Linked DNA regions of Homo sapiens: regions 1, 3 and 4 are each linked to region 2. The links are contacts of gene promoters, found by promoter capture Hi-C in human tissues and cell types (Jung and others, 2019). All regions are on one chromosome and are shown on one strand. Each heading gives the region's core, a stretch centred on a gene start or on the middle of the fragment in contact. The rest is flanking DNA. Distances are from core to core; before and after follow the strand shown.

What was found. The method cuts DNA at HindIII sites, captures the fragments that hold promoters and counts their contacts. A contact is called where the count stands out against the background at its distance.
Region 1: a contact is called between a fragment that was not itself captured here and the fragment with the promoter of SULT4A1 in region 2, in 1 of the 25 tissues and cell types used here (dorsolateral prefrontal cortex).
Region 3: a contact is called between the fragment with the promoter of SCUBE1 here and the fragment with the promoter of SULT4A1 in region 2, in 4 of the 25 tissues and cell types used here (H1 embryonic stem cells, IMR-90 fibroblasts, mesendoderm cells and 1 more).
Region 4: a fragment that was not itself captured here is called in contact with the fragment with the promoter of SULT4A1 in region 2 in 1 of the 25 tissues and cell types used here (lymphoblastoid cells).

The regions. Positions count from the first base shown.
Region 1 is chr22:44,583,117-44,588,485 of GRCh38, reverse strand. No RefSeq gene overlaps it. Among named protein-coding and RNA genes, the nearest start is that of LINC00207, 16 kb to the right of the region's middle. The HindIII fragment of the contact is 4,820 bases long and covers 1,673-5,369 here.
Region 2 is chr22:43,860,796-43,866,422 of GRCh38, reverse strand. It overlaps SULT4A1 (sulfotransferase family 4A member 1), which reads left to right and starts at 3,910. Exons shown (of 7, transcript NM_014351.4): 1 at 3,910-4,209. The coding sequence starts at 4,041. RefSeq lists an enhancer at 5,595-5,627. The HindIII fragment of the contact is 9,350 bases long and covers 406-5,627 here.
Region 3 is chr22:43,340,566-43,345,749 of GRCh38, reverse strand. SCUBE1 (signal peptide, CUB domain and EGF like domain containing 1) reads left to right here and starts at 2,378. Exons shown (of 22, transcript NM_173050.5): 1 at 2,378-2,576. The coding sequence starts at 2,489. The HindIII fragment of the contact is 4,801 bases long and covers 1-4,352 here.
Region 4 is chr22:44,599,181-44,604,565 of GRCh38, reverse strand. No RefSeq gene overlaps it. Among named protein-coding and RNA genes, the nearest start is that of LINC00229, 24 kb to the left of the region's middle. The HindIII fragment of the contact is 5,775 bases long and covers 1-4,856 here.

The sequences.
Region 1 (5,369 bases), core at 2,833-5,332, 720 kb before region 2:
CCGAGTAGCTGGGATTACAGGCACCCGCCACCACGCCAGGCTAATTTTTGTGTTTTCAGTAGAGACGAGGTTTTGCCATGTTGGCCAAGCTGGTCTCGATCTCCTGGCCTCAAGTGCTCCACCCGCCTCAGCCTCCCAAAACGTTGAGATTACAGACGTGATCCATCATGCCCAGCCACTAGTTGTATCTTTACATGCATTGGACATTCAGCAGTTCTTTAGTCAGTTGGATTTTACTGTAGCTTATTTATATTTTTTCCCAAAAAGGTTCGTGGGTATGTTCTCCCTAAGTTTTTCTGTCAGGTCAGTTTATTTACCATACAATAAGTGACATCCCGGAAGTGAATAATTTTGCAAGTCATGGTTTCTTTCCTTCAAAGCCTGGTGCCTCATGGCCTTAGGAACCAAAGGTTGCTGTGCAGAGCCTGAGGCAGGCAGTTCTCCTTGCAAATGTTTTTCTTGTTTATCCTAAATGATGGAAGGATTCTTTTTCCTTGAAATTCATAACTTTGCTAAGAAATCTGTGTGGAGCACTCTAGCAGATTTTCCTGAAATGTGGAGTGCTTGCTCTAATTTTGGATCCAATGCCTCCTCCCTTTCCAAGACTCTCTCTCATCTGCTGTATTTACTGCGTCATTTGCAGCATGTATCAGGGGCTCTGAATCAGGGAAGCCAGTTTTCTTTGGGTTGTGCTCATTCTCCAAGTCTAGGAACTGTTCTCAAATTCCCTTTTATCTCTATCTTTTCAACTGCAATCACTATGGTTATCTCAAGGTTTTCCTCTATACCGGTAATTCCACGTTCATCAGTGTCTAGTCATCCATTTAGTCTTTCACTAAGTATTTATCAAGTGCTGGCCAGGTGCCAGGCGAAGATGGTATTGGGGCAAGAGCATGGCAGGACAGGCAAGGCCTCCTCTTGGAAGTGGTGGGGATAGAGAGAGGATTGGCAAAATAAACAGCGCATCCAGCACACGAGATGTCCACAAGGGCTGTGAGGAGCGTGAACCACGATGGGGAGGGTGGCCGGGAAGACTTCCTGGGAACGGGATGTTTGAGCAAAGCCGTGAGGGAGGTGAGGTCCTTTGCTGCTTCTCATCTGTTAGGTTCACAAGGATGGACTGTCCCACATTTCTTTCCTCAGGTTCCAAATCTCCCTTTTCATCTCATTCTTCTGGCTTCTCGCCTCTGGGAGTGTTGCTTTTGTGGAATTCATGTCCTCAGCCATTTGTTCTCCAGCATGAAGCCACCGGGAGGCCACACCTGTTTGTGGCTGACGCGGTCTGGGTTGGGCTGTTTGCCTCACTTTGGCTTATGAGATCCCCCTTCCTTCTCCCTTCTCTTCGGTGCCGTCTGCTTGCGCGGTTGCCATGGCATCGTTTCATCTCGCTCACGCTTGGGCAGCTCGGTCCTGACCGTCTATTTGTTCTGGGGAATTGGCGTATTTGGTTCCAGTTTCTCTTTGGATGCATTCTCTCTTGTTTTTCTTTGAAAATCGCACCTTAGTGTTTGCAAAATGATGCACACTTGCCATGGGTGACTTTTGGGGCACCCCTGTGATTGGCCCCCACTTTTCTGGGATGTCACTTTACCTTCCAGCTTCTGCCCACGGTGGGTGTCTGGCTGCAGCCCCTGTTTCTGAGCACAGCAGGGGAAATGCCAGCTGGGCTGGAAAACCGGGCTTGGTTTTCTGTCTTGAGATGGTGTTAAATGTCTACACTGCAGCTCACACACCTACTTAGGAGCCTCTGTGGGGATCCCACAGAATGCCGTCTGTAGTTCCTGAGTCTGTGAAGAGGCTCAGCCCCGCAGCTCACATTCTCCATTCTGCGTACCCCCCCGGCCGGAGCTGGGTTCACTCCTCTGTGGTCAGAAAGCAGTGAAGCTCAGAACACCACCCACCTTGCTGTGTTCGTTTGGAAGGAGGGGGCAAGAGATGGTCGGGGCTGGGGCATGAGAGCGCCGAGCTGGAAAGGTGGGGCTGGCGGTGAGTGCTTCCCACTGAGAAGGAGCTCTGTGCTTCAGTGGCTGCGGATGGTGAGGCGCAGGGCGGGGTGAACGCAGGGTTGGTGCACACCTGCATGGCCACACCCGTCTGCAGGGCCACCCCTTCCCAGGCTGGCTGTTAGGGATTTGAAATCACTCCTGGCCCTGGGAGTGGGTGGCTGAGATCAGGTGGAGGAAGGTTATGAGAAAAGGGGATCCCGGGAGCCCAGAGGCCAGGCTGTTGGGAGGATCAAGCCTGTGGCCACGGCAGTCACCAGGAATTCTATCAGGAGTGGTGTTGAGGGGGTGACAGTGACTGAGGAGGGGTGTGACTTGGGGGTGGGCCGCAACTGTTGCAGGGAGGGTGTTGGGTGACAAAGTCCAACAGCGTGAATTGGGTGAGTGTGGGGCGTTCAGGATGGAGGGAGGGAGAATGGCATAGAAGCCACAGTGAGGGACAAGGAGACCGCCATGGCCAGTGGGATGTGGGCGAGGGAACAGCCCCCTGAGAGCAGACCCCATGGGGGTGGCAGGGTCCTCGGGGATGGACTGGATTTAACTCAGGCAGAGTCTGAAGGTGTAGGTGGTTTTGTTGACAGTTGACTGAAGCCCGGGGGGTGTCATGGAGGGGAAGGGAGAGGAGCCGAGGGGGGCACTGCTGTGGGAGGGATATGCAGGGCCTTATGAGGCAGACGGTGATGGGGTCCCCGGCTTCTCTTGAGGACTGATGCCATCAGGACACAGGGTGAGATGAACTTCATCTCAACACCCAAGTCAGATGGTGATGGCGGCAGGGTGCTCGAGGGAAGCTGTCTTGTCCCGGACCACAGGGCTCTGAGGCGACCCCCTGGCTCCTGCTGCTGGAGCATGGGCCCCTGAGGACCCGCATCTCATTCCTAGTGGGCGGGTTTTCTTCCAGCCCCTAACGATGGTCGACCCCTCCATGGCCTGCAGGGCAGGTACTTGGCTTCTAACCATTTTGTCTTCAGGTAATTAATGCCAGTTTATGATTCCCCCAAGTCTGTCCTCCTTCCTGCCTTCTCTCCTTTTTTCCTGTCCTGCTTTTCTTTTTTTAATTATTTTGTTTTGAGATGGAGTCTTGCTCTATTGCCCAGGCTGGAGTGCAGTGGCTTGATCTTGGCTCACTGCAACCTCTGCCTCCCCAGTTCAAGGGATTCTCCTGCCTCAGCCTCCCAAGTAGCTGGGACTACAGGCGCCTCCCACCATGCCCAACTAATTTTTGTGTTTTTAGTAGACATGGGGTTTTGCCACGTTGGGCAGGCTGGTCTTGAACTCCTGACCTCAGGTGATCCTCCCGCCTCAGCCTCCCAAGGTGCTGGGATTACAGGCGTGAGCCACCGCACCTGGCCTCTCCATTCTTTCTTTTCCTAGAGTTTCTGTTTTCTATCACCACATCTTTATTGCACCTGCCATTTGTGGAAGTTTTTTACTAGCAAAGCGGTGACTTTTAGACCCAAACCCTACTGAATGTGTTATTTATTAAGAGAAATAATAAACTGCTGTGAAGAGTCAGGGCTCACATGGTTTTGAATCTTGGTCTCCTCATTATCTGGGTGACCTTGAAGGAATCGCTTGGCCTCTCTGAGCCTCAGTTTCCCCATCTGTAGGAGGGAGGCAGTAACAGTGCATAATTTGTGAAGCTATCATAGGGATTCACTGTGCAGCCCTTTATACAGGTGTGGACCAAAGCTTGTGCCCAGCAGAGGTCAGCTGCTCCCCTGTGGCCACGTGCCAGGCCCTCCTCCTCACTGACCTCACCAGGCACTCACAGCTCTACATGGCAGGCTCTGTTTGCTCCACACCAGCCTTCTCCAAAACCCTCTCCTCCAGGCAGCCTCTGGGCTTGCTGGCCAGGTTCTTAGAGGTGCCAGTAACTACCACACTCAGGCCTACAACCTCTCAGTCTCCAAAAGGCACCCTCTGCTCATCTCCTTTTTTGTCGGGTCAGTGAAGATGTGGGCTGCCACTTGGTGCCAGGCACTGTTCTGGGGGCCTGAGTGAGGTCTGAGATCAGGATAGACAGAGCGCGCCCCCCTGCCCCAACCGTGGAGGGGCTGATCTGGTGGGGGAATCAGATGACCCTGCATACAAATGCATATTTATATAAAGCATAGAGCAGGGGGTTGGAAATGGGTCGTGGGAAGAAACATGATGCAGGTGATGGGGTGGGAGCACCAGGGTGCTAGTGGAGCTGGCAGGTTTAGACAGGGCGGTCAGAAAGGTGACACTGAGCAGAGACTTGCAGGAGGTGAGGGAGGGGCCCTGCCAATACCCAGTACCTGGTGACAAGTGTCCAGGCAGCAGGAACGGCTAAAGCAGAGACCCTGAGGCTGGCGCGTGCCTGGAGCCAGGTGAGGGGGCGGTGGGGGGTGGATGTCATGTAGGATCTCCAGGGTATAGGGTTGGAGTAGAGGCTGGCACGGGACTGTGATGGGATGGATGTGCTGGGATCACAGCAGCCACTGCATGGGGAGGAGACCTGTGGTCTGGCTGGGTCGGGGGCAGTAGGGGGCGATGGCGGGGACCATTAAGGGCTTGCTTGGAGCAGCGTACGGGAGAGCTGCTGGTGGCTCTGCCTGGGGCCATCGTGGGGGGTGCAGAGGGAAATAAGGGGGGAGGGCCGATGATGTTTGGAGCCTATAACACTGGCCATGTCCTTGTTTTGTCCTCTGGGAAGGGGTCTTGAAACAGGACCCCACAGAGTGATTGAAAGCAGATTTCACCTTTCAAGGGTCTCTAGGAAGGAGGAGGTTGCACAGGTCCTTGCCCGTCGTCCTTCCTATCCCACTCGCGACCCTGGTCCTAGCCTCAGAAGTGCAACCCCTGGCTGTGCACTGATTTGCTGAGTGACGTAGTGGGTCACTTGCCTCCTGGGATAATCAGTTTCCCCATTGGCTCCGTGAGAGGTGACTGAGGTCCTTCCAGCCTGCCTGGTGCCTATGACAGGAGGAGAGGAGTCATCAGCACCAATGTCCTGTTATTATTGGGTGTCTGTTATTACTGGAAACAAACAGCGGCGTCTGTCCCTGTCTCCGCTGATTAATGAGAGCCCATCCTTGTTCATTTCCAAGATCAAAACACAAGCAGACCTCCTCCTGCGGGCTGTTCTCTCCCTCCCTGCTTCCTTGAGCATCAGGGCGGAGGAGGAAATGGCGCCATCTCTTCTGGCTCTGACTCAGCCCCGATCAGTGGCTCAGCTCAGCAAGTGCTCACCGAGGCCACTTGGCTGGGTGCTGCAGACACAGCCAAGCCAGACATGGTCCCTGTACTTGACAAGGGGCTCATCCAGTGGGAAAAGCAAGCAGTGGACACGATACCACAGTGGGTGGGTAAGAGGTGTGCAGGTGGCCAGCAGTGGGGGTC
Region 2 (5,627 bases), core at 2,661-5,160:
TCCTCCAAAGATGTCCACATTCCAGTCCTGGGAGCCTGTGAATATGTTATATTATATGTCAAAGTCAAACTAAGGTTGTAGATGAAATTAAGGTTGCTGATCAGCTGATCTTAAAATAGGGAGATTATCTTGGATTATTGGGTGGGTACAATGTAATCACAAGGGTCCTTAAAAGTGGAGGACGGAGACAGAAGAAGAGTCAATGTAAGAGCGATATGGCCAAGCGCAGTGGGTCATGCCTGTAATCCCAGCACTTCGGGAGTTCGAGGCAGGTGGATCAACTGAGGTCGGGAGTTCAAGACCAGCTGCACCAACATGGAGAAACCCTGTCTCTAATAAAAATACAAAATTAGTCGGGCGTGGTAGTGCATGCCTATAATCCCAGCTACTCAGGAGGCTGAGGCAGGAGAATTGCTTGAACCTGGGAGGCGGAGGTTGCAGTGATCCGAGATCGTGCCACTGTACTCCAGCCTGGGCAACAAGAGTGAAACTTTGTCTCAAATAAACAAGTAAACAAAAAGAGTGATACGATGTGAGAAAGACTGTGTCTGCCATTTTGAAGATGGAAAGAGACCATGAGCTAGAGAATGTGGGTGGCTTCTAGAAGCTAAAGAAAGCAAGGAAATAGGTTCTCCCCTGGATCCTCCAGAAAGGAATGCTAGCCCTGCTGACACCTTCCTTTTGGTCTAGTGGTACCAGCATCAGACTTCTGACTTACAGAGCTGAGTTTGTGGTAATTCATTATAGCAAAATAGAAAATGACTACATAATGAACATATATCATCACCTACATTCACCAATTGTGGCTTTTCCCACATTTTCTTTCTCGCTCTCAATGTGTATACATACATGTGCTTGCATTAGGGTTATAATTGTGGTTTTATTTTTGTAAAACCATTTGAAAGTAAGTGGCAGACATCATGATTCTTCACCCCCAAATACTTCCACATGTACCTCTGAGGCAAATGGACATTTTTACATAACCACAGTGCAGTTTTCAAATTTAGGAAATTTAAAATAGAATATCATCTAATCTAGAGTCTATATTCAAATATTGCAAATTATCTCATTAATGTCCATTATGGCTTTTTTTTTTCAGACGGAGTCTTTTTCTGTCACCCAGGCTGGAGTGCAGTGGTGCAATCTCAGCCCACTGAAACTTCCATCTCCCAGGTTCAAGCAATCCTCCTGCCTCAGCCTCCTGAGTAGCTGGGATTATGGTGCGTGTCACCACTCCCAGCTAATTTTGACCAGACCTCACTTACAAAACAAACCCAAAGATAAATGCAACAATTTCAAGATAGTGACCACAGACCATTAAATTCCAAAGTGTGGGGCCCTTCTGAGCACAGAACCCTGTGTGACTCCCCTGGTTGCGTATCCGTGAAGCAAGGCCTGCATCTATGTCCATGTCTGTACTTTTATCTATGTCTATATCTTCATGTAACCGCCACTAAGAGCAAGCTATGATGTTTCCAACACTATGGAGGGTAGGTAACCTTGAGTCTGCTCCCAGTCAACCCTCTTTCCAATGCCCCAGGTTAAGACTATTCTCACCTCTATCACTATAGATCAGTTTTGCTTGGTTTTGACTGTATATAAATAGAATCATATGACATACCATTTTTTGTGCTTGACTTAGTTTGTTCATCATTTTGACTGTGACATTCTTCTCAGTTACATTCCTTTTTTAAAAAAATTACTGTATTCCATTGTATGAATATATCGCAATTTATCTATTCTACTGTTGGGTACGTGGGTTTTTTCCCATTTTTGTCTAACATGCTCAAATTGTTTCCGATTTGACCTATGATAATACTTTCATGTTATACCCTGTGTCCTTCTGACCTATTCCCAACATTTTTGAACTTGCAGGAGTTCAAGACTCAACAAGACATTTTAGGCTCATCTTGTACTTTCCTTGCCCTGGAGTTGGCTTTTTCTCCAAGAAACCCCAGGTTCATTTGGTGAGGGAAGTATTTAGCAAAGATCTGGGCAGTGGGTATGCCTAGTATTATTGAGATATCACTGCCTAAAGGCTTTTCCAGCAAATATAAGAAATAGGAATTTTAAAATATCATAAACTCATGTCAATACCTCCAATTCCAATCCAATACCATAGAGTTCTTCCCTGCCTTCTCGCATTCCCCACTTACATTTTCCTTCTCCCACAGTGAGAACCCTCACCTGAAACATCAGGATATTCATTCATTCACTCAATCCCTCTAGCTTTTGGCTAGATGCCCTTTTGCCATTGGCCTAATTATTCTGAATAAAGGCTGGGTGCTCGGAATGTCCTCTTTCTTTTTTGGAAAGACATCTACAAGCTTCCCAAGTCAGGATTAATTGCTGTTTCCTCTCTCTGTCTGCTATGTACACATGGCCTGCGCTTCTCAGCCCATGTGTATGTCTTTGGTGTCAGAATGCACGTGTCTCACTCTACAGTAAGAAGGAGAGAGTAGGAATAGGTCCCGTCCAGCCACTCTGCTCCAGATTCTTGTTGGTGTAAACTCCTTCCATCTTCCTGGCTACACTACTTAGAGGTAGGAATCATTCTTTTCCTTTACACAGCTGATGATGCTCGGCTGCAGAGAATGAGAGCAGGCTGTGTTGTTTTCATCTTTGTGCTTCCCCAGGCATGTTAGTAGGTGCTTCATATATGTCTGTTGAGTGCATGACTGGCAAGGGGTTGCACTGAGATCTCTAGAACTCGGTTGCTCTCAAATTATAGTTTGCACAAGAAGTGCCTTACTAAATGTATATTTTTGTAATTTTTCTCCATAGATCTGGGGTCCTGGAATTTGCAATCCAACACTCCCCTCCCCTACTCATGGGATATTAAGAAGCACTTTTTGGCTGGGCGAGGTGGTTCACACCTGTAATCCCAGCACTTTGGGAGGCCAAGGTGGGCAGATCACGAGGTCAGGAGATTGAGACCATCCTGGCTAACACGATGAAACCCCGTCTCTACTAAAACAAACAAACAAAAAATACAAAAAATTAGCCAGGCATGGTGGCATGTGCCTGTAGTCCCAGCTACTCGGGAGGCTGAGCCAGGAGAATGGCGTAAACCCGGGAGGTGGAGCTTGCAGTGAGCTGAGATCGCGCCCCTGCACTCCAGCCTGGGCGACACAGCGAGACTCCATCTCAAAAAAAAAAAAAAAAAAAAAAAAGCAAAAAAAAAGCACTTTGTTTTTTTGGCTGGACTAGGTGGCCCATACTTTTTTTTTGTTGTTGTTAGAAGATCTCGTCCTGTTGCCCAGACTGGAGTGCAGTGGTGCAAGCTCACAGCTCACTGCTAATTTTTTTTTTTGTATGTTTGTAGAGATGCGGTTTCACCATTTACCCAGGTTGGTCTCGAACTCTTGACCTCAGGAGATCCGCCCGTGCTCGACCTCTCAAAGTGCTGAGATTACAGGCGTGATCCACCGCGCCTGGCGAAGACGCATATTTTTAATAGGACCTAATATTTACCTGAAATTATCTTGGTTATTTACCAATGTAAGCTCCAACAGGGCCAGGCTTCTGCTTGCTTCTACCCTGACGCGTGTCGGGGCCCTGGCCCAGTGCCTGGCACAGATCAGCAGCGCGCTAAGCACGTGTTGAATGGACGACTACCTTTCAGGGCCTTCCAGCCAGGGTATCTCATGCGTCTGTGTTGAGCGCTTGCTGAGTGACAGAAGCTATGAGCGGAATGAACGCACGCACGACTGAGGAGGCTGCAGACCGCGGGCCAGGGTCTCTGTCAGCCCCGGCAGCGGGTGGGTGACCCCGGCCGGGGGCGGGGCGGGGAGGACGCGGCTCCGCGGCGCCATGACGTCACGCCCGTGCAGCGCCGCGGCCGCGTGCCGGGCGGCGCCATGACGTCATACCCGCGGAGCCTCCGCCGCGCGTCGGCGGCGCCATGACGTCACGCCTGCGGAGCTGCCGCCGCGCGCCGGTGGGGCGCGAGCGTGTGCGGGGCGCGGGCGCGGGCGCGGGCGCGGGCGCGTGCGGGCTGCGAGCCGGGAGGCGGCGGCGGCGACGGCGACGGCGGCGGCATGGCGGAGAGCGAGGCCGAGACCCCCAGCACCCCGGGGGAGTTCGAGAGCAAGTACTTCGAGTTCCATGGCGTGCGGCTGCCGCCCTTCTGCCGCGGGAAGATGGAGGAGATCGCCAACTTCCCGGTGCGGCCCAGCGACGTGTGGATCGTCACCTACCCCAAGTCCGGTGAGCCCCGCGCCGACCGCGCCCGCCACGCCATGCCCCAGCCCTGCAGCGCGGCCGCGTAGACGCCGCGCCCGCGCCCGGGGCTTCTGCTGGGCCGGGTGGTCGCCCTTGGCCTCCGCCCCTGCCGTGCCCACCGCTCTCCCGATGCTCGGATCCCTGCGGGGCGGGGTGGGGTGGGGTGGGGGTGGGAAGGGGCTTGGTTCTCATCTGGGGAAACCAAGGTCAGAGACCTTCGGGAGCGGCCCCTTCCGTGGAGATGGAGCCTATTTGGCCGGCGCTGCAGGAGGATGGGCCCAGGGCCGCCACCCATCCCTGCTTCTCCCTTTACCTGGCTGGCTGTGTGACCTTGGACAGGTCACTCAACCTCTCTGTTCCTGAATCCTGCCCAACCTTTGATGAGTGCAAAGTCCTGGTGTTCACCTGGGAAGGGAGATAACATGGGCGTCAGGGCTTTCAGCGTGGAAACGTAACGTCCCTCCTTTCCAGCCTGGGCTCCGGGTGGGGGATGGGACCAGTCCCCGCCTGGAGTGCCTTGCTTGTACATTCTCTTGTTTCAGGGCTGCCTCCATCACCGAGGCAGGACCTGGGGCATTCACATTTCCCAGCATTAGCTGACGTCACTTTCACAATAACAGCTGTGTGAGCTAGTGGTGGTCATTCCCACTTTACAGTCTAGGCACAGAGGCTCAGAGAGGGGAAGAGGCTGGTCCAAGGTCACTCAGCTGGTGAGTGGCTGACCTGGGAATTAAAGCTAGGCTGGTCTGTTTCCAGACCTGAGGTAGGAGATTGTATAGTACCCCATCTGAGGTTTTTAGGGAAAGGAGGTAGCAGCTTTCCTGTTCTGTAAACATGCCCTGGGATTTCCTTGTTGCCACTGTATTTGAGGCAATCACAGCGTGGTTTAGAAGGTGTCTGGCTCTAAGGTCACGCCGGACCAGCAGTCGGGCAGTTTCAGGAAAAGCTGTAGGCTTGGCTGTTGTAGCTGTATGGAGTTCCAGACACCTGAGGGCAGGTCTCTGACATTCTTCTGAGGAAGATTGGAGTAGGGACTCTCAGTGGAGGGTGTTGGTTGGAGAACAGAGCGTTCGATGGGCTGCTATCTTGAGCACATGCCAGTCGCCGCATGGGGTGGGACCTAAAATGCTTTAGGAATGGCTAAGCGTGTCGTTGGCTTCTGTGGCCACTCATTAAGTCCTGCGGGCCAAGTGCTCTATCGCTGTTAATCTGTGAGGGACTCTTACACCTTTTTTTCAGAGGCTCAGAGAAGGCACAAATTGTTCGGAGTCACACAGTTGCTGAGGGACAGAGGTCAGGTCTAGCTAGGTCTCCCGGTCCACGGCCAGCCTCTCCCCTGCCTTATGGGTGCTCCGTTGCCCTTGGAAAACCGTGAGGGCCCAAGAAGGAGGGGGACCTAGCCT
Region 3 (5,184 bases), core at 1,129-3,628, 520 kb after region 2:
GACTCATCCGTTTCTGCACGCAGCCCTCCAGCACATCACTGTCATGTGCATACAGTGCTCTGCAGTTTTCAAGATGCTTCCAGAACATTCTCTGGCTCACTTATTCAGTCCTCGCCTTCACTCATGGACCTTGGCAGATTCTCTATTTGTTCTTCTCATCCATTAGGCAAATATCCTCTTTATGTTCTGTGTCTAGCCCAGGTCACCTGTCCTAAGAGGCCTCCCTGACGGCGCCCTGGGGCAGAAGTGACCTCCTCTTTCTCTGCTCCACAGGCCGCCTCCTTTCCTTCACCTGTGAGGGGCTTACAGGTGTGTCTTCTCTCCATTTCCCTCCTCCTCTGCTCGCTGAGTCCTCCACATAGACAACAGCTGCCTAGAAGGAACCACTTTCTCTCTGCCTGCACACCTTAGAGGGTGATAATTCACCAGCAAACTTGACCTGAGCAATCGCTTGGGGGCAGGCTGGGGACTACAACTTGGTACAAGGGACAGCTACCTCTGGGCTGAGGGGTCACAGAGTAACCTGCCTCCATTCCTGCCTTGATTTGTGGGGATGGAGCCTGGAAGAAGCTTCTCTTGCTGCCATCAAGCTTGAGGGGCACCTGGCTAGGGCTGGGCGGGGGGGTGCCTAATGACCAGGCACATTAGAGGGCATTGTTTCAAGTAGGTCAGAGCCCCCTGGAAGAACCTCCCCCACCACCTCACACTGCTTGCCCTGTTGCCCAATGCACAAGATAATATGTGGTTCTGAGGGAACTCCCCACCCCCTGCAGAAACTCAAAGCTACACAATTGACGGGGACAAAATAAAGCCTGTCAACAGCATCTCCCAAATTAAACCAGCAGCCAGGAGCAGCCGTGCAGACCGAAATGTCTGGAGCAATGGGGTGGGGGCTCAGTGGAGACAACAGGCAGCGCTTCCTTCTTCTTTGGGCATCTCTGGACCCCCCACACCCCCGATCCCCATGTAGGGGACCCCTTGCCTCAGCCACCAGGCCCGTGCCACAAGCTGATGTGAAGTCAGATGGGGTGTGAGAGCTGGCTGGACACAGATTTAACCTTCCAGGGCTGAGGAGCTCGTCTACGGTAGGTTGGATGAGGGCGTGAAGAAGCATGTGTGAGCGTGTGTGTGCTGGAGGGTGTGAGGGTGTGAGGCTGTGTCTGAGTGATTGCACGTGAGAGCATGTGTCTGCATGTGTGACTGTGTGTGTGTGTGTGTGTGTGTGTGTGTGTGTGTGTGTGCGTGTGTGTGTTGGGGGCAGGAAAGGGAGCTGGTGTGGAGGGGCTCAAACTGGTGCAGGCAGAGTGGACAAAAAGAGAAAAGAGTTGTCTTTGAGTTGGGCCTGGAGAGCAGGAGAAGAAAAAAGGAGCTCTTATTGGTGGTTGTCAAGGAGATGGGCCTTGGGGTTTGCTGAACTTTCGTCCCTTAAAGCGTCCTGCCTGGAACTGAGAGGGGCCATTTATTTCCAGCCGCCCGTCCCTCCCAGGCCCGGTGGGACCAGACCCGAAGCCAACCCTCGCCAGGCGTCAGGTGTAGACCCCAGGCCAGGCCAGAGCAGTTCCTGGGTCTTCGGACCGGGATGCCCGCCCTGCCCCTCCTCCTGGCCCCGCCCGGTCTGTCACAGGGGGAGGCCTCGGCCTCGCATTCCGGGCAGCGAACTTCGCCGGCCGAGGTTAGCCCCGTGCGGGGGCCTCCCGCGGGACCGACCGCCAAGCGGCATTGTCCGTCCCGGGCGCCCGCCCGGTTCCAGACGCAGGTCCTGCGGCCGCCCCGTGACAAGCACACTGACGGGCCACTGTCCTTTGACGAGTGCTAAAAAGTTCGTTTGTTTTGAACGTCAATTTTCAAGTGATCTTCACGAGGTTTCCCCTCCCGGTTCCTTCGCTGCTGCCTCGCCCGCACTCGGTCCCCAGTAGGTGCTCAAGAAACGTCCAGCAAACGGCAGCGCAGGCGAGTCTGCTCTGCGCGCTGGCGCGTTTCACTGCCCACGGATGGCGGGCGACCTCACGGGATCCCCGGTTCGCAGGATCCCCGCCCCCGAGGCTGCCTCTGGGCCGGGAGGGGTTACCCCAGAGGGGCGTCCACTCTCGACGGCGGGGGCCGGGGCGCCGCGGGCAGGGGAGGGCGCAGCCTCCAAGCAGCCCCAGCCTGGCCTAGACCCCGCGCCTAGCGAGCCGGCCGGCCAGGCCCACACCCCCCACCTGCCGCCCGCCCCAGGGGAAGGGTCCCCCCGACGACGCCCGAGCCCCCCTCTTCCTCGGAGGGCCGGAGGCCGGCGCCCATTGGCCGGCCCTGGGCGACGCCCCGCCCCTCCGACGCCACGGGCCAATGAGCGCGCGCTGTCAGCTCATCAGCCGGGCTGGCTGGGCGGCTCGGGAGCCCGAGCGGTGGCGGAGCGGCGAGCAGCGAGCAGCGCCTGCGGGAGCGGCCGGTCGGTCGGGTCCCCGCGCCCCGCACGCCCGCACGCCCAGCGGGGCCCGCATTGAGCATGGGCGCGGCGGCCGTGCGCTGGCACTTGTGCGTGCTGCTGGCCCTGGGCACACGCGGGCGGCTGGCCGGGGGCAGCGGGCTCCCAGGTAAGCCCCCGACCGAGGTGGGGGGCGGCGGGCGCGGGGGGCTCGGGCGGCCGAGGCGCGGTCCCGGAGGGCTTCTTCCCCGCGGATCCCGAGCTCGCCCCGCGCGGCCCCGCGCCCCCTGCCTCTTTGCAAAGTAACTTCTAGGGCCGGCCCGGGGCGCCCCCTCCCCGCAGCCCGGGCGGCCGGGGCTCCTGAGTCCGGCGGGGCCGCACCAGGGGTGGGTGGGCCGGGGCCCCGGGAGGGGAAGCGCGAGCGCGGGAGCGAGGAAGAAAGGCGGCGGTTCCCGGGGACCCCGCGTGCGGACCTGGGCGGGGCGGGACCCCGAGCGCAGAGGGGCGCTCCTCCTGGGAGAGGGGGCGCGGGGCGGGGCGGGCGGAGGGGGACACGCCAGGAGGTGGACGGGGAAAGGGACGGACCGAGAGACCGGGACGGGGCGGGAGGTGCGGGACAGACGGACAGAAGAGCCGGCGCCGAGGGAGCAGACAAAAGGAAGCCCGGAGAAAAGACAGATGCGGAAGGGTAGAGAGGAGGCCCGCACCGCCCGGGGAAGGAGGAGGAGGCCGGTGGATCAGGGGGAATCAAGAGGGATGGTCCCACCGATGATAAGGGAGAGAGAGAGGAGGAGACGGGGGACAGATGGACGCCGCAGAAAAACGGGGTTGGGGGGGGCGGTGAGAGGGAGACCGGGAAAGAGAGAGGGACAGAGATACCTGGAAAGCCGCAGACGAGGGACCGGGACCGTCTGACAGGACGGGGAGGAAAGACAGAGGGAAGGAAGGCAGAGGATCCGGAGGACAGACACAGGGAGGAGAGTCCGGACGCGGGACGTCGGTGGAGCAGACCCAGGAAGGGGAGGGGGAGACCCGGAGGCCACAGGCCCAGGCCCGTGGGTTTCACGGGGACCCCCCCACCCTCCCACCCGGTCCCCTCCTGCTCTCTGTCTTCAGGGGCTTCCCGAAAAGCTGGAGTCACATTCTCCCCTCCTCGTCATCAGAGGCGCTTCCTCCGGTGCTCTGCTTGGAGGGGGAGGCAGGGGGAGGGTCCTGCACGTCCTTCCCGGCTTCCTGAGGTCTGGTATGGGTGGCGTAGGGTCTATTCCTGGTGGTCCCGCGTGCCCCGAGTGAGGATGCTGGGCCTGTGAGACTCTTCCACAGCAACACCCCTCCTGGAAGCCCAGCCCTGCTGCCCCATCATCCCCCTTGTGTCTGTGGGTGTCTCTCCCAAGCTTTGGGGTCCCTCACCTCTGAGTGACTGTTCCTGGGCGTGCCTATCCCCACCTGTGTCCCTCCTCGTGTCTCTCTGTATCTGACTCTGTCTCCTCCACGACCCTCTCCGTGGAAGCCCTGTGACTGTGAAACCCCAGCAGCATGTCCCCAGCATAAGCAAACCAGAGTCAAAGGGAGCAGCCTGTGCTAGGAGGGCTGGGTCGCCCTGCAGGGGAGTCTCCAGCCCAGACAGGAGCGGGAGCATGGCAGAGAACCGATGGGGACAAGTGGCTTCTCCCTCTCTCTCCTCAAACTCCCATGTCCTCTCCCCACACTCCACACCAAGGACACCCAAGTGTTTAAAGGTGTGTTGGGAGATAGCTCCACCCACCCCTCATCAACATCCATCCATTTCCATTCCAGTGAAGACACCTGCCTAGGTGGGAGATTAGGGGTGAGGGCACAAGGGGCTCCCACCCCTCATTCCTACATACTGGCCCCTGGGAAGTGGGAAGAGCCATATCTGTGGCCCACTGCCCCTGCTGGTCCTGTCTCATAAGTGACCCCAGTCCTCCCAAACAGAAGCCTGGAGATGGGCCCTCTCTGGCCTCTGGGTCCCTGCCTTAGAGGCAGTGCCAGTCCTGCACAGTGTCCCTCTGTTGCCACTTCCCCAGAAGGCCCTCATGGATGTTCCTGCTGGCCCAGCCATCCAGTTGCCGGCTGGGCCCCCTCCAGTTCCTGCCTCCTTGTCCCCTTTCCACTCTTCCCCTGGGCAGCTGTCTAGGACAGGCCGCCCACCTGAGCAGATGGGTAGCCCCCCCCGGAAAGCAATGCCACCTGCCGTGTGTGTGCGCACACGTGCATGCATGTGTGTGTGTGTGTGTGTGCAGGGGGGTCATGCTGTTGTGTTTCTTGTTGATGCCTCTCTTCCTTCAGGGGTGGGCAGGAGACTTAGGGGCTAGGGCAAAGAAGGAGAAGCCCTGGGGGGCATGGATCTCATAGGCCCCACTGGCAGATTTCGAACCCAGATATTATCCAGGGGAGAAATTTAGAGTGGACACTCTTGGGGACCCAGCAATCTAAGGTGAGACCAGAGGCATGAAGAGATGGGGACATTCCAAGCTTACCCCTGGGGCACTGCCCTCATGGCAGCTGCTGAGAGTTCCTTGCACTGCTGCACTCCTGGGTCCTTCTGTCTGTCTGTCATGTCTACATTTCATGCATTGCTAGCTAGAAGTCACATGGCACATAGGAAAGCTCATTCTGTGTCAGAGTCCAGTCTCAGCCCCAGTGAGCTACTGACCCATAACAGATTTCACCTCACTGGGCCTCATTTCCTCATCTATAACCTGAGGAATCAACCTGGATTATAGGTACAGCTCTGACTGTGCTGAACTGTGCCC
Region 4 (5,385 bases), core at 720-3,219, 740 kb before region 2:
TGGTGTGTGTATGATGTATGTGGTGTATGTGTGTGATATGTGGCATGTACCACGTGTGTGTGTGTATGTGTGTGGTTTCTGACACGTGCCTCTGGAGCCCGGCTGCTGCATTTCTGGGGGAAGCGGCTTCAGTGCACCCCCCGGGCTCCCTGCTGGGTGGCAGACACGGGGAATCTGGGCCTTTTTGTTTTTTGCCTGTGTGGGTCTGTTTGCCTTGAGGATCCTGCTATCTTCAGCATTAGCAACACCCACCGCTTGATCATGGGTCCCAAGATTCTGGTTTGGTCGGCTCGAGGGCCGCCCGTCCTGACCGTGGGCTTGGGAGGGCGCCCCGGTCTCATCCTCACCACCTGTGTATATTGTGTGTCTTTTCCATCGCGGGCAGGGTCCTCTATGTTGATCTTGTTGAATCTCAATGAGTGAAAATCACTCCCGAAATGCATCTTGTGCGGCTGGAGCAGAGAGCAGCCCCTTGAGGTCTCTGGGGCTCGCGGAGCTCCGCGTTTCTGCAGCCGCTTCAGCCGCCCAGTGGGTTTTTGTGTCCTGTGCTAACTTGTGACTCATGGTTAAAGTTGTGAAACTGAGTCTGTGAGTTCTCCTTATGTGTGAACCACAAAAAACCATTTTTTTCCTCCTTGAAAAAGGAGGATCCTTAGCCTTCTGTGCTGGCCTGTTTGTAAGGGAACCTTTCTGCATCTGTGGCCTGCTTGGGAGCACCCTCGATTGCAGCTGTTGGAGAGCCAACGGTAATAAGAACTGAACATTCGTTTGCACTTTAGAGATTTCTGGAACAATGAGGGGTTGTGTGCCATGCGCTGAACTGTGTCCCCAGGCCCCACCAATTCTATGCTGAAGTCATCATCCTCAGGCCCTCAGAGTGTGACTGCATTTGGAGACAGGGTCTTTAAAGAGGCGATTATAGTTAAATGGGGTCACTGGAGCAGGCCCTCATCCAATAGGACCGGTGTCCTTATAAGAAGAGAAGATGATAGGGACACCAGTCCTATTGGATTAGGACACAGACATATTAGTGTGGGACAACCGTGTGAGGACATAGGGAGAAGGTGGCATCTACAAGCCAAGGGGAGAGGCCACAGGGGAAACCAACCCTGCTGACCTTGATCTCAGTGTAAGGAAATAAATCTCTGTTGCTTAAGTCCCAGCCTGTGGTACTTTGTTATGGCAGCCTCAGCAAACTCATATTTATTTATTTTAAAGACAGAGTCTCACTCTGTTGCCCAAGGTGGAATGCAATGGCGAGATCTCGGCTCACTGCAACGTCTGCCTCCTGGGTTCAAGCCATTCTCCTGCCTCAGCCTCCTGAGTAGCTGGGACTACAGGCATACGCCACCACGCCCAGCTAACTTTTGTATTTTTAGTAGAGACAGGGTGTCACCATGTTGGCCAGGCTTGTCTCAAGCTTCTGACCTCAAGTGATCTGCCAGCCTCGGCCTCCCAAAGTGCTGGGATTACAGGTGTGAGCCACTGTGCCTGGCCATATATCATACTTTAAAATTACTGGCCAGGCACAGTGGCTCATGCTTGTAATCCCAGCACTTTGGGAGGCCAAGGTGGGACAATCACTTGATCCCAGGAGTTTGAGACCAGCCTGGGCAACATGGTGAAACCCTGTTTCTACAAAAAATAAAGAATTAGCCATGCATGGTGGCGGCTTCTGTAGTCCCAGCTACTTGGGAGGCTGAGGTGGGAGGATCGTTTGAACCAGGGAGGTCGAGGCTGCAGTAGCCATGTTAGCACCACTGTGCTCCAGCCTGGGCAACAGAGCAAGACTCAATCTCAAAAATTAAAAAAAAAAAATTAGTCCTTAAAGAAGGTTCTGCTTGGGCTATGTAACAATTGCTCCAAGGGCCTGAGCATATGCTGGAGTGGGAGAGACCATTTCCAGCTGGTCTGGAGCTTCATGGCTGCTGAGAGCTCTGGAGGGTTCTAAATGTTGGGACTTGTTTTCTCCCACCCCTCAAAAGAAATGAGGGGAGTTCCACAGAGATACAAAGTGATGTGGGGGGGGGGGGCATTTGCTGACTGTAGATGCTGGCATCTGGCTTTTGCGCATTTGCAAAGCAGGTTGGGAAGGAGGGCAGATCTTGAGGGTCTAGCATCCCCTCAGAGGGGGATGTATGGGGTGGAATGCTGACATGGCCTCCACATTTCCGCCCCTGATGGATGCATCCTCCTCCCAGTTATTCAGTCAGATACAAATCTAGGTGCTGCTGTGAAGGGGTTTTTCAGATACAGTTAAGACCCCAATCAGTTGCCCTTAAGAGAGAGGATGATTAGGCAGGGCGTGGTGGTACATGCCTGGAGTCCCAGCCAGCACTTTGGGAGGCTGAGGCAGGAGGATTGCTTGAGCTCAGGAGTTTGAGACCAACCTGGGCAAATGGCAAGACCTCATCTCTACAAAAAAATTTAAAAAATTAGCTAGGTGTGTTGCTGCACACCTGTAGTCCCAGCTACTCGGGAGGTTGAGGCAGGAGGATTGCTTGAGCCCAGGAAGCCAAGGCTGCAGTGAGCCATGACTGCACCAGTGCACTCAGCCTGCGTGACAGACTGAGACCCTGTCTCAAAAAAAAAAAAAAAAAAAAAGGTGGTTCATCTTGGTGGGCCTGACCTGATCAGGTGAGCAGGTGAGACTGTAAAGAGACTGGACCCTCGAGACGGGAGAGATTCAAAGTGTGGGAGGATTTGACATGTCAGAGCTTCTCCAAGGCTGGCTTTGAAGATGGAGGGACCACATGACAAAGAGGGATGGCACCTTTAGCAACTAAGGGAGGCTCTGACCAGCAAGAACACGGGGACTCAATTCCATGCTTGGAGGACCTGGATTCTACTGCATGCAGTTGAGGCTAGAACAGGTTTCTGAGCTCCAGATGCGAACACAGCGGGAAGACACCTTGATTATAGCCTTTGTTTATTGTTATCATCATCACCATTATCATTCTTTCATTTTATTTACATTTATTTATTTATTTATTTATTTTTTGAGAGACAGGGTCTGGCTCTGTTGCCCAGGCTGGAGTAGAGTGGTACAATCAGAGCTCACTGCAGCCTCCACCTCCTGGGCTCAAGCTATCCTCCTGCCTCAGCTTCTGGAGTAGCTGGGACCACAGGCACGCACCATCATGCCTGGATGATTTTTATTTTCACTAGAGGTGGGGTCTTGCTATGTTGCCCAGGCAGGCCTTGAACTCCTGGGCTCAAGTGATCCTATCACGTCAGCCTCCCAAAGTGCTGGGATTCCAGGCGTAAGCCACTGCACCCGGCCCATTTTAGCCTTGTTGAGACCCTGGGTGGAGACGCAGTCATGCTGAGGCTGGACTTTCAACCTGCACAGCTGCGGGCTCACGAGGGCTGTGTGAAGCTGTGAAGTTTGTGGTAGTTTGTTATCTAGCATGGGAAACCGGGGACAGAATTTGGCCAAGTTCCCCCAGCGTGTGAGTGCAGAGATGGGGCCATGTCTCCCCTGTTCAGCTCAATTCTGTTGCCAGCAGCGCTTCTGTTTGGAGAAGACCCTCCCCATTGCCCCCATTGCCTTGGGTCAGGGTTGAGCTGACGCAGGGAGGGCTGGCCAGGGGCTGCTGCAGTTGCCCCAGAGAGAGGAGGTGGCCGGACGCTCCAGTCCTTCTCCCAGCCATGGCTTGGCTGAGCTGGTGCTTCTCCAAGTGGCCAAGGGAGAGGAAGAGAAACCCTTCTGGGCTAAGTCTGGGGGTCCCTGGAGAGAGTGGGCTGGTGGCACGTAGAGGGACACAGTCCTGGGAGTGGGTCCAGAGTGCTGAGATTTGTGGGGGTCATTTCACCTCCCAGAGCCTCGACTTTTCTTATCTGTAAAATAGGGATTAAAAACACGTTCCCCACAGCATTACTGTGAGAAGGCGGGTGGGGACGCCCTTTGCGAAATGAAGGGTTGACCTGTGTGATCCGGTTCTGCCGATGCTCCGGCCATGCGTGTGACCGCTGGCTGCTGTGGTTTTTCTCTGCATGTGCCGGCTGCTGTGGTTTTTCTCTGCACACGCTGCTTCTTCTGAGCCTTCAGGTCTCAGCTGAGAGGCCTCCCCCTCTGAGACCCCTTTGTGACTGCTCTGTCAAAGTTGCTTTCCTGGAGACACCTACTGTCCCTGTGGGACTCACCACGGTGCAGATTCTGTGTGACATTTGTGTGTTCCTCTGTCTGTCCCCTGCACTGAGTTACAAGCTCCTCAAGGCCAGGGCTGGCTGTGGCTTTCCTCACCAACACTCTGGGACAGTCCTTAGTGTGAAGGAGACACTCACTGAACACCTGTGGTAAAAAAAAAAAAAAAAAAAAAAAAAAGCACACACACAAAAACACCTGCCAGCTGGGCACGGTGGCTCACGCCTGTAATCCCAGCACTTTGGGAGGCCCAGGTCAGCAGATCACTTGAGGTCAGCAGATCAAGACCATCCTGGCTAACATGGTGAAACCTGGGTAAAAATACAAAAAAGTTAGCAGGGTTTGGTGGCATGTGTCTGTAATCCCAGCTACTCAGGAGGCTGAGGCGGGAGAATCATTTGAACCTGGGAGGCAGAGGTTGCAGTGAGCCGAGATCACACCTCTGCACTCCAGCCTGTGTGACAGAGCGAGACTCCGTCTCGGAAAAAAAAAAAAAAAAAGAAACACAGCTGCTGTGTTGGTGGGACTGCCCCTATTCAGCCTGTGCAAAAGTCCCACCAGGTTCTGACCCCCTGAGGCCAGGGACCGGGAAAGCTGGAGGCTCCCCAGCCAAGGGCAGGCCAAGCCCTGGAGCTGCCCGGGCCTGGGCACCCCTGGAACCCAGCTTCCCTCCCTCTTCCTGCTCTAACTCACAGCCACTTGGTGTTTTTCCACGAGAGGCGGGAATCAAAGTCTTCGGGGCTTTGAAGCTACAGAGCTAATCATTTTCAACTAATTAAAACACAATTTGCAAATATTGCTGGCAGGAGCATCCTGTCTCTGCCAGGGTTTGCAACCTGGGTCCCACTCATCTGGAAAAGAGCGTCTAGGGCTGGAGGGAGGCCATGTCCCCTCCCTGGGCCTCAGGGTCCTCAGCTCACAGCCAGTCCCATGGGTCCTGGTTTCTGAATACCCCGGGGGAGCCACTGCTCAGCCTCTGTGTGGCCACACCGGCCTCATTGCAGGGGCCCCTGCTGCCACCCTTAACCCGGGCAGTCTCCTCCACACAGCGGTCAGAGTGGCCTGTTGGGGTACACAGCAGGCCCTGCCACATGGCCTCCGCATTCTCCAGCTGCTCCCCAAGTCTTCACCGTGGTCTTTGGGGGCCTCAGGGCCTGAGCTCCGGCTCCTGGCCTCCTCACCCTCCCCAGGGCCTCCCCACCCCACTGGATCCACCCCAGGACTTGCTGTTCCCTGGG